Regions from separate parts of the Homo sapiens genome. Here region 1 is linked to region 2. The links are contacts of gene promoters, found by promoter capture Hi-C in human tissues and cell types (Jung and others, 2019). All regions are on one chromosome and are shown on one strand. The core of a region is centred on a gene start or on the middle of the fragment in contact, and the rest is flanking DNA. Distances in the headings are between cores, read along the strand shown. Region 1 overlaps SERGEF (secretion regulating guanine nucleotide exchange factor). Region 2 holds the start of MYOD1 (myogenic differentiation 1).

What was found. The method cuts DNA at HindIII sites, captures the fragments that hold promoters and counts their contacts. A contact is called where the count stands out against the background at its distance.
Region 1: a fragment that was not itself captured here is called in contact with the fragment with the promoter of MYOD1 in region 2 in 2 of the 25 tissues and cell types used here (H1 embryonic stem cells and mesendoderm cells).

What each region holds. Positions count from the first base shown.
Region 1 is chr11:17,885,180-17,889,812 of GRCh38, forward strand. The region is part of intron 9 of SERGEF (secretion regulating guanine nucleotide exchange factor); the gene reads right to left. Among named protein-coding and RNA genes, the nearest start is that of SERGEF, 130 kb to the right of the region's middle. The HindIII fragment of the contact is 4,469 bases long and covers 1-3,748 here.
Region 2 is chr11:17,716,590-17,721,737 of GRCh38, forward strand. It overlaps MYOD1 (myogenic differentiation 1), which reads left to right and starts at 2,982. Exons shown (of 3, transcript NM_002478.5): 1 at 2,982-3,823; 2 at 4,313-4,391; 3 at 4,666-5,148. The coding sequence starts at 3,194. The coding sequence ends at 4,919. RefSeq lists enhancers at 3,931-4,442, 4,443-4,954. The HindIII fragment of the contact is 9,376 bases long and covers 512-5,148 here.

The sequences.
Region 1 (4,633 bases), core at 264-2,763, 170 kb after region 2:
CCTGTTAATCCTGCCTTCTCAATGGTTCTCAAGTCTGACTTATTTCCAGCTGCTATCATCTTAGTTTAGTCCTTTTCGCCTCAGCCTGGAGTCTTAGCAACCAATGACTTTAAGCTTTCTTCTCACCATAATATCATGATCTGATCTGTTTTTGTTTTTAGAGACAGGGTCTTGCTCTATTGCCCAGGCTGGAGTGCAGTGGTGTGAACCTAGCTCACTATAACCTCGAATTCCTGGGCTCAAGCGACCCTTCTGCCTTAGCTTCCTGAGTAGCGAGGACTACAGGTACACACCACTATGCCTGGCCAATTTTTTTTTTTACTTCTTGTAGGAACAGGATCTCATCATGTTGTCCAGACTGCTTGAACTCCTGGCTTCAAGCGACCCTCCTCCCTCGGCCTCTCAAAGTTCTGGGATAACAGGCATGACCCACCGTACATGCATGGGCATGATCTGATTTTTTTTTTAATTAAAGTTGTCACAGTTATCAAAGTCTCATTACTGTTTAACACACATTTTACCACTCCTTTCCTAAATAAACCCTCTAACCCAGCAACACGAGTCTCTTTTCTGTCTCTGGAAAAATCTCATTTCCCCCACTTTTGTATCTTCATTTGTACCATTCTCCCTTCTCCATACCATTCTAAATCCAACCAACTCTACAAGGCCTAGTTCAAAACCTGAGGCAGTCCCCCAGATCACCTCAGCCTTTAGGAGATCTGCCTCCTCTCAATTCTCACCACTTGCCTTGGCTATAGTTTGCTTTTATCAAATCTCCTTTGTGCTTTTAACAGCTTGGACACGAGTATGGGGCATGTCAGTGTGAGGTAATGGAGAGAGTTCTGGATATGGAACCAGAAAACCTGGATTTAAGTCCTGATGCCCCCCGCCCCCACTTCCTAGCCATGTGACTTTGGGTAAATCTCTTTGCCTCCCTCTGGCCCTCAGTTCCCTCATCTGTAAAACGGAATTCAAACAACCAGGTATACCTCACGCATCCTAACCTCTGCTATCTACAGAATAAAATTCACTTTGGGCTTGACCCTGTTCTACAGATACATTTTAGGACTTATATATTATTTGAGAACATATGAAAGGAGACTATAAGCATTAGCAACTGGCATAGGTTCACTATGAAGAGTTCTTCAAGCTGGACACGGTGGCACACATCTGTAATCCCGGCACTTTAGGAGGCTGAGGCAAGCAGATAGCTTGAGCTCATGAGTTCAAGACCAGCCTGGGCAACATGGCGAAACCCTGTCTCTACAGAAAATACAACAAAATTAGCCCGGCGTGGTGAAGTGTGCCTGTAGTCCCAGCTAGTTGGAAGACTGAAGTGGTGTGGTAGGATCACTTAACCTGGGAGGCGAAGGTTGCAGTGAACCGAGATCATACCACTGTACTCCAGCCTGGGCGAGTACTAAAAGCGAGACTAAAAACAAAACAAAACAAACAAACAAAAAAACCTTCTTCAGTATAAACAGTTCATTTCCTTTTCCAATAGTTTATTGACAGATAAGGAGAGGGCTTGAGAAATGTCTACTGAATTAGAATATAATATACACAGTAATTAGGCTATAATATATACAATTAAACTAGCCAGGCAGTCAGACTGCTTGCTTTTCCCATAGTGCCCTTCTAAGGGAATGTCTTCATCATAAATGGCCGTGTTGATACCATGCAGTCCTGCTTCCTGGGGCCAAACCTAATTGGACTATGGATGGACACCTGTCTCAATGTGGATTAATGCATAGATTGACCACAGCCTGTGAAACGGCTTAGTGAAAATTCTGCCTTGAAACAGTTCTAGGGAGTGAGTCCTCCAGTTGGTAGCTGGAGCAGTAGCTGGAAGAAATAGACACAAGGAAGGTTAAGATGAGGAGGAGGTACAAGCAGAGGAGTCAGAAGCAGCAGGAAGGAACAGTAAAGTGAAGCTAAGTCACCAGGATGTGAGTTCTAAAGGAAGAATCAATAGATCCTACTGCTGAGGGCTCAAGAAGGTTTAGGCTTTTGAGTTGCCTTGGGTTCTAAATGACTTTCCCATTGTTCTTTTATAAGGCATTTGCTTCACCTGTTTTCCTCACTTATGCTAAAGTACAATACAGTCTTCACAATAATAATCTGCTAATATCTCTGGTCCTTGCCAACTAAAAAAGCCTAACACAACAATACATCTGGATTTCAGTAAAGGCATGCCACCAAGTTACTTAAGTTACTCAGTACTTGTACTGAGAACAAAATGGAACCATGTGAGTTGGACAATCAAACTAAAAGACAGGCAATTAATAGATTCAGGCCAGGTAAATATCCTATGGCAGGCTTCTCAGAAACAATTTAACCCTTTCCCTAGTAGCCATGATAGGTTAAAATTAAAAGACTGTCAACACCAAGTACTAACGAGGATGTGAAATAACTGGAACTCTTACACTGCTGACGGGAGTGTAAATTCAACAACTGCTTGGAAAAACTGTCTGGCAGTATCTACTAAAGCTAAACACATATGTGGACACTCAAGTACCCAAAATAAATTATTGCTTACTTCTATCAAAAGGCATGTACAAGCATGTTCATAGCAGTTTTATTCATAATAAAAATATGAAATAACACAAATATTCATCATCAGTATAATGGATACAGTGTAGTTCATTCAGAATACTTTACAGCAGGGGTCCCCAACCCCTAGGCTGCAGACTGGTAAAATTCCACGGCCTGTTAGGAACCAGGCCACACAGCAGGAGGTAAGCAGCAGGCAAGGGAGCGAAGCTTCATCTGTATTTACGGCTGCTTCCCATCGCTCACATTACCATCTGAGCTCCGCCTCCTGTCAGATCAGCGGTGGCATTAGATTCTCATATGAGCACAAACCCTATTGTGAACTCCGCGTGGGAGGGATCTAGGCTGCGCAATCCTTATGAGACTCTAACTAATGCCTGGTGATCTGAGGTGGAACAGTTTCATCCCGAAACCATCCCATCCCCACCTCTTCCAGGAAACCGGCCCCTAGTGCCAAAAAGGTTGGGGACTGCTGCTTTACAGCAGTGGGGGGAAATATTGATATTCACAACATAAGTAAATCTTTAAGAATAATAATATGAAACTCAAAAGTAGGCAAAACTGATTTCAAATAAATAATATAACTGCTCTGAAGGGGGTCAGAATAACTCTTGAACACAGTACTTTGACTAAATAACTTCTGTTTACAAACAAACAATGCAAAAAAAATTTAACTACTTTGTAGGTTATTTTCTTTCATTGCATGCGTGTATCAATTCTGAAAGTATTTTGTATATATTGTGGGACCATGCAAATGAGGAAATATATGAATGTTGCTAGGAGCCAGAATGCTCACTGTAGTTGAAGGAAACACAAATATAGAATGAGAGAAGGCAAAGAGAAACCCTGTGGATATCAGGTTAGAATTAGAGTTATCAGTATGAACTCACAGTTTTACACACACACACACACACACACACACACACACACACACACACACACACACGCATTGAGTTAAACCAACATGAAATTGCCCAGCAGCACTGACACCCCAGCAGCAATGAGTTTACTTGGTGCACAGACCCTGGCTTTTAAATACCATTCAACTAAGAGGGATCAGAGCTCCTCGGAGAAAAGGCTGATTCTAGGGTTGGGATGAGGAAAGAACAGTTTGAGCCTGGAACATGTATTTGTACCACGAAGTAAGAAAGTGATAAAAGAGTAAAGGAGACGTGTCAAAAGGAAACTAGCCAGCCTGAAACAGCTCCCACTAGCTAAATCAGGGAGAACTTGAGCTCCAAAATGAATAATGACAGTAGATTATAGCCCATTGAATAAAATAAAAATCCACTGTATATACTGAGCAATAGATAGATAGGGAAGCAGGGAAAGCTCTTTCTTATAGTAGGATGCCAAAAATAATAAATGTAAAAGAATAATTGGGCTAGAAAATAATTTTGCAATCATTAGTTAATTCAGACAAGAATCATCAATGCATGTTAAAACTACTGGGCAAAAGTCTGAAGAGGAAAAGGGTATTCACATAGTCTTAAAGTATCTCTTCACAGATTACTTCTTAATTACAAAGGATAAATGGTAGCCTTATAGCAGAGAAAGGAGGCAAGCACCACCTTACACAAGAAATGTAGGTTAGAATCACTAATAATGTGCCAAACTGACATCAGGTGCCTCCTCATATGATGCACTAAAGACAGACACAACATCACTTATTTAGTATTCCTGCCAAAAGTGTGTAAGTGAAATCCAATCATGAGGAAAAATCAGATAAAACCAATTGAGGGACATTATATACAAAACAACTGTCCTGTACTCTTAAAAAATGTCAATGTCATAAGAGATAAAGAAAAGCTATTCCAGAATAAAGGAGGCAAGGGGACATGACAACTAAATGCAATATATGATTCTGAACTGGATGCTAGATCAAAGTGAAAAATTGTCATAAAAGACATCATTGAGACAACTGGAAAAATATACAGAAGCTCTGTAGATTAGATAAGAGTATTCTATCAACGTTAAATTGTTTTAAAAAGAGAGAGGACACAAATGTGGCAAAATGTTAATACATTCTGTGTCTGGGTGAAGGGATTTGTGGAATTCTTTATATTATTCTTGCAACTCT
Region 2 (5,148 bases), core at 1,732-4,231:
TGCTGGGGAGTTTGAAGCAGGAGGATGGCATAATCCCATTTACATTGTAAAGGTCTACTCAGGCTGCTATGTAACGAATGGATTATACTGAGGCTACAGAGGAAGTGAGGAGGGCAGCCAGGTTATTGTGGTCATCCAGAGCAGCAGTGTGACAGCTTAGTCCAGGATGGTGACACTAGGGATGGACTGACTTGAGACAGGTCTTAGAGGTAGAATGGACAGCTCTTCCTCATACTCAGACCTCTCCTTGGGAACTCCAGCCTTAAAAATCCCCCTGCCTAATCCACACTTCCATCTGGATATCCGATATGCATTTCAAATTTTGCCCAAACCTGGACACTTAATCTACCACCCACAAACCTAGTCTTCTCAACTCCATTCTTGCAGGAGTCATCCTTAGCTCCTTGCTTATCTCACTTCCCACATGCAATCGTGAGTAAATACTGCTAGCTCCATCTTGAAAACATATATCTAGAATTCAACCACCACTTTTCACCAGCTCCACTCACTGGGATTATTGCAATAGCCTCCTAATTGGTCTCCCTCCTTCTGCCCTTTCCCTCCAGTAACCAGCATGCTCCTGTTAAAATGTAAATCAGATAGTGATATTCTTCTCTTCCGCTCAAGCCCTCCAGTGAGATGGCTCAAGCCATCTCAGAATATAATCCTGTTTCTCTCTCTCTCACCCCATTTCCCACTATCTCTTTTACTCACCCTGCTGCAGACATATGAGCCTCCTTGCCATACTTTGAATCTGCCAAACATGGTCCTGCCTCAGGACTTTTGCACATGCTTATCCCTCTATCTGGCCCTACATATCTCCAGGTATCTGCTTCCAATTCTCTTCATTCAGGTCTCTGCTTAAATGTAGCAGAGAGGCCTTCTCTAATCACTCCATAATCTTCATCACTGTGTCTCCCTGCCTTGCTTTTTCTTCATAAGGCTTCTAACCTCCTGGCATCACATACTTCCTTGCTTATTTGTTCATTGTCTATCACCCTGCTTACATTGACAATGTAAGTGCCATGTAAGCAGAGTCTTGGTTTTGTTCATTGCTCTAGCCCCACACTTGGACTGGTACCTGCCACATAATGGATACCTAACAATATGTGGATTTCCGGGTGACCCCCTGCAGCTTGGGTGGGGTGAGGCCAGGACTTTGCTGCCTCTGCCAGGATTTAGAGTTACTGTCACTGCTGCTCCATGATGTAGACTTTACTGAATGAACAAATACAGGTGGGCCCTATGGAGTAAAGCGAGGTGAGTACTTCATGAAGGGAGACCTTCAGCACCACTACCAGCAGCAGAGAAGTGAAGAAGTTAGGACCCCAACAGAGCCCTCTGAGTTTTGTGGGAAGGGAGGACTTCTTAGGGCCCAGAACGGCCAGCTAGAATGCCTTCCAGAAGTTAGTGGGAAAGGCACAAAGATCACTCCTGCTTAAATTTCTGGTTTCCAGGAGGGGAGATCCAGGCAGGGATGTATGGCCAACGGAGATTCCTAGCCAGAGTGCTGAGAGGACTGTGTGAACTGCAGATTCAGGAAGAGGCTGAGAGACCCCCATGGGGGTGGCCGGTATGCTGAGGCTTGTATGGGAGCCAGATATCCCACATCCCATGGGGTGGTTGCCTCCTCCTGTTTCCAGCCTTTCCAGTGAGGCTGCAGGAAAGAGACACAGCTAAGGCCTGGAGACTCGTGGCACTCCGTCAGGGCATGGTACCACAGATGAGTTGTAAGCCTGCGGGACACAGCATCCAACTCTGAAAGCCCCTTGCTCGAATAACCCTACATCACCGCCTGAGGGCTTCCATATCCTTGGTCTCTTCAGACTGTCATCCCCACCACAATTACTCCAAGAAATTACTGTCATCCCCAAATCTATAACTGGAAACTGAGGCTCAGGAAGGAGACATGACTTCCACAAAATCACACAGTTGGGAAACTCTGGAGTCTGCACTCAACTGGTCTGCAAACCGCACTCTCGGAGACTTCAGGTGAGATGAGGTCAGGTTCTCAGGCCAGGTCCTGAAGTTTGACACCTTGGCGAAATGCACTTTCCTTGACTCAGCACCGCGAGTGAGGCGGAGCCAAGCCCCGAGCAGAAGGGTTTTCTTCCCAGCTGAAGAGGCAGCTCAGCCTAGACCCCAGGCATGGCACTGGACACCCCTGCTGTGGAAACGTGCAGATTTAGATGGAGGGGATTCCTAACCTGGGCAGGATCCGAGTTTGGAGAGATTGGCGCGAAGCTTTAGCAGCAATCTCCGATTCCTGTACAACCATAGCTGGGTTTCTAAGCGTCTAGGGAAGAAGGACTGGGCCCACGACCTGCTGAGCAACTCCCAGGTCGGGGACTGGCGGAATATCAGAGCCTCTACGACCCGTTTGTCTCGGGCTCGCCCACTTCAACTCTCGGGGTCTCTCCGCCTGTTGTTGCACTCGTGCGTTTCTCTGCCCCTGACGCTCTAAGCTTTCTGCTTTCTGCGTGTCTCTCAGCCTCTTTCGGTCCCTCTTTCACGGTCTCACTCCTCAGCTCTGTGCCCCCAATGCCTTGCCTCTCTCCAAATCTCTCACGACCTGATTTCTACAGCCGCTCTACCCATGGGTCCCCCACAAATCAGGGGACAGAGGAGTATTGAAAGTCAGCTCAGAGGTGAGCGCGCGCAGCCAGCGTTTCCCGCGGATACAGCAGTCGGGTGTTGGAGAGGTTTGGAAAGGGCGTGCCGGAGAGCCAAGTGCAGCCGCCTAGGGCTGCCGGTCGCTCCCTCCCTCCCTGCCCGGTAGGGGACCTAGCGCGCACGCCAGTGTGGAGGGGCGGGCTGGCTGGCCAGTCTGCGGGCCCCTGCGGCCACCCCGGGGACCCCCCCAAGCCCCGCCCCGCAGTGTTCCTATTGGCCTCGGACTCCCCCTCCCCCAGCTGCCCGCCTGGGCTCCGGGGCGTTTAGGCTACTACGGATAAATAGCCCAGGGCGCCTGGCGAGAAGCTAGGGGTGAGGAAGCCCTGGGGCGCTGCCGCCGCTTTCCTTAACCACAAATCAGGCCGGACAGGAGAGGGAGGGGTGGGGGACAGTGGGTGGGCATTCAGACTGCCAGCACTTTGCTATCTACAGCCGGGGCTCCCGAGCGGCAGAAAGTTCCGGCCACTCTCTGCCGCTTGGGTTGGGCGAAGCCAGGACCGTGCCGCGCCACCGCCAGGATATGGAGCTACTGTCGCCACCGCTCCGCGACGTAGACCTGACGGCCCCCGACGGCTCTCTCTGCTCCTTTGCCACAACGGACGACTTCTATGACGACCCGTGTTTCGACTCCCCGGACCTGCGCTTCTTCGAAGACCTGGACCCGCGCCTGATGCACGTGGGCGCGCTCCTGAAACCCGAAGAGCACTCGCACTTCCCCGCGGCGGTGCACCCGGCCCCGGGCGCACGTGAGGACGAGCATGTGCGCGCGCCCAGCGGGCACCACCAGGCGGGCCGCTGCCTACTGTGGGCCTGCAAGGCGTGCAAGCGCAAGACCACCAACGCCGACCGCCGCAAGGCCGCCACCATGCGCGAGCGGCGCCGCCTGAGCAAAGTAAATGAGGCCTTTGAGACACTCAAGCGCTGCACGTCGAGCAATCCAAACCAGCGGTTGCCCAAGGTGGAGATCCTGCGCAACGCCATCCGCTATATCGAGGGCCTGCAGGCTCTGCTGCGCGACCAGGACGCCGCGCCCCCTGGCGCCGCAGCCGCCTTCTATGCGCCGGGCCCGCTGCCCCCGGGCCGCGGCGGCGAGCACTACAGCGGCGACTCCGACGCGTCCAGCCCGCGCTCCAACTGCTCCGACGGCATGGTAAGGCCGGGACCCCAGGAAGTGAGGAAGTTAGGGCGGCGCTCGGGATATCAGGGACGCGTTTCCGAGGGCGGGGAGCTGGCCTTGCGGGAGGTTTGGGCCAGGATCCTTCCCGAGAGAGAGGACCCCCTTGTCCTGGGCAGCTGTCACTGGGGTAGCCTGTTTTGGAAGTGTGCGGGCAAGCGTTCGAGCTGCCCCATTGGGGGCGCTATTAGAACACTGCAGCGCGAACGTGAAGATCTTTTTCTCTACTTATCCCTACTTCCAAAATGTAAATTTGCGCCCCTTGGTGACTGTCCGCCCTTGGTTTGGCCCTGCATGTTGCAGACCTCATCTCCTACCCACCCGTAATTACCCCCCCAACCAGGACAGGTCTGGGCCCGGAACTAGAGCCTTAGGCTAGAGTTAGGGAGGGGGCGGCTACAGGAATTGGTGTTCGGGCCTCGAGCCGTCCCGCGGGCCTGACTCAGTCGCCCTTGCTGTTTGCAGATGGACTACAGCGGCCCCCCGAGCGGCGCCCGGCGGCGGAACTGCTACGAAGGCGCCTACTACAACGAGGCGCCCAGCGGTGGGTATTCCGGGCCTCTCCCTGCTCGCTCCTCCTCCTTCATGGAGCTGTCCTGGCCTCTATCTAGGACGCTCCCACCCCCACTCACACACGCCTATGTCCTGGGAAGTGGTGCAGGAGATGAAATACTAAGCAAGTAGCTCCCTGTCTTTTGGATTGTCCCGGACTCTAACTAAAGTCCTCAGTTTCCAATCTGTCTCAAAGTACTGGGCCCGGGGGTGGGAGGCTTGTCGCGGCCCCACCCCTGCTTACTAACCGAGCCCTCCCCGCGCAGAACCCAGGCCCGGGAAGAGTGCGGCGGTGTCGAGCCTAGACTGCCTGTCCAGCATCGTGGAGCGCATCTCCACCGAGAGCCCTGCGGCGCCCGCCCTCCTGCTGGCGGACGTGCCTTCTGAGTCGCCTCCGCGCAGGCAAGAGGCTGCCGCCCCCAGCGAGGGAGAGAGCAGCGGCGACCCCACCCAGTCACCGGACGCCGCCCCGCAGTGCCCTGCGGGTGCGAACCCCAACCCGATATACCAGGTGCTCTGAGGGGATGGTGGCCGCCCACCCGCCCGAGGGATGGTGCCCCTAGGGTCCCTCGCGCCCAAAAGATTGAACTTAAATGCCCCCCTCCCAACAGCGCTTTAAAAGCGACCTCTCTTGAGGTAGGAGAGGCGGGAGAACTGAAGTTTCCGCCCCCGCCCCACAGGGCAAGGACACAGCGCGGTTTTTTCCACGCAGCACCCTTCTCGGAGACCCATTGCGATGGCCGCTCCGT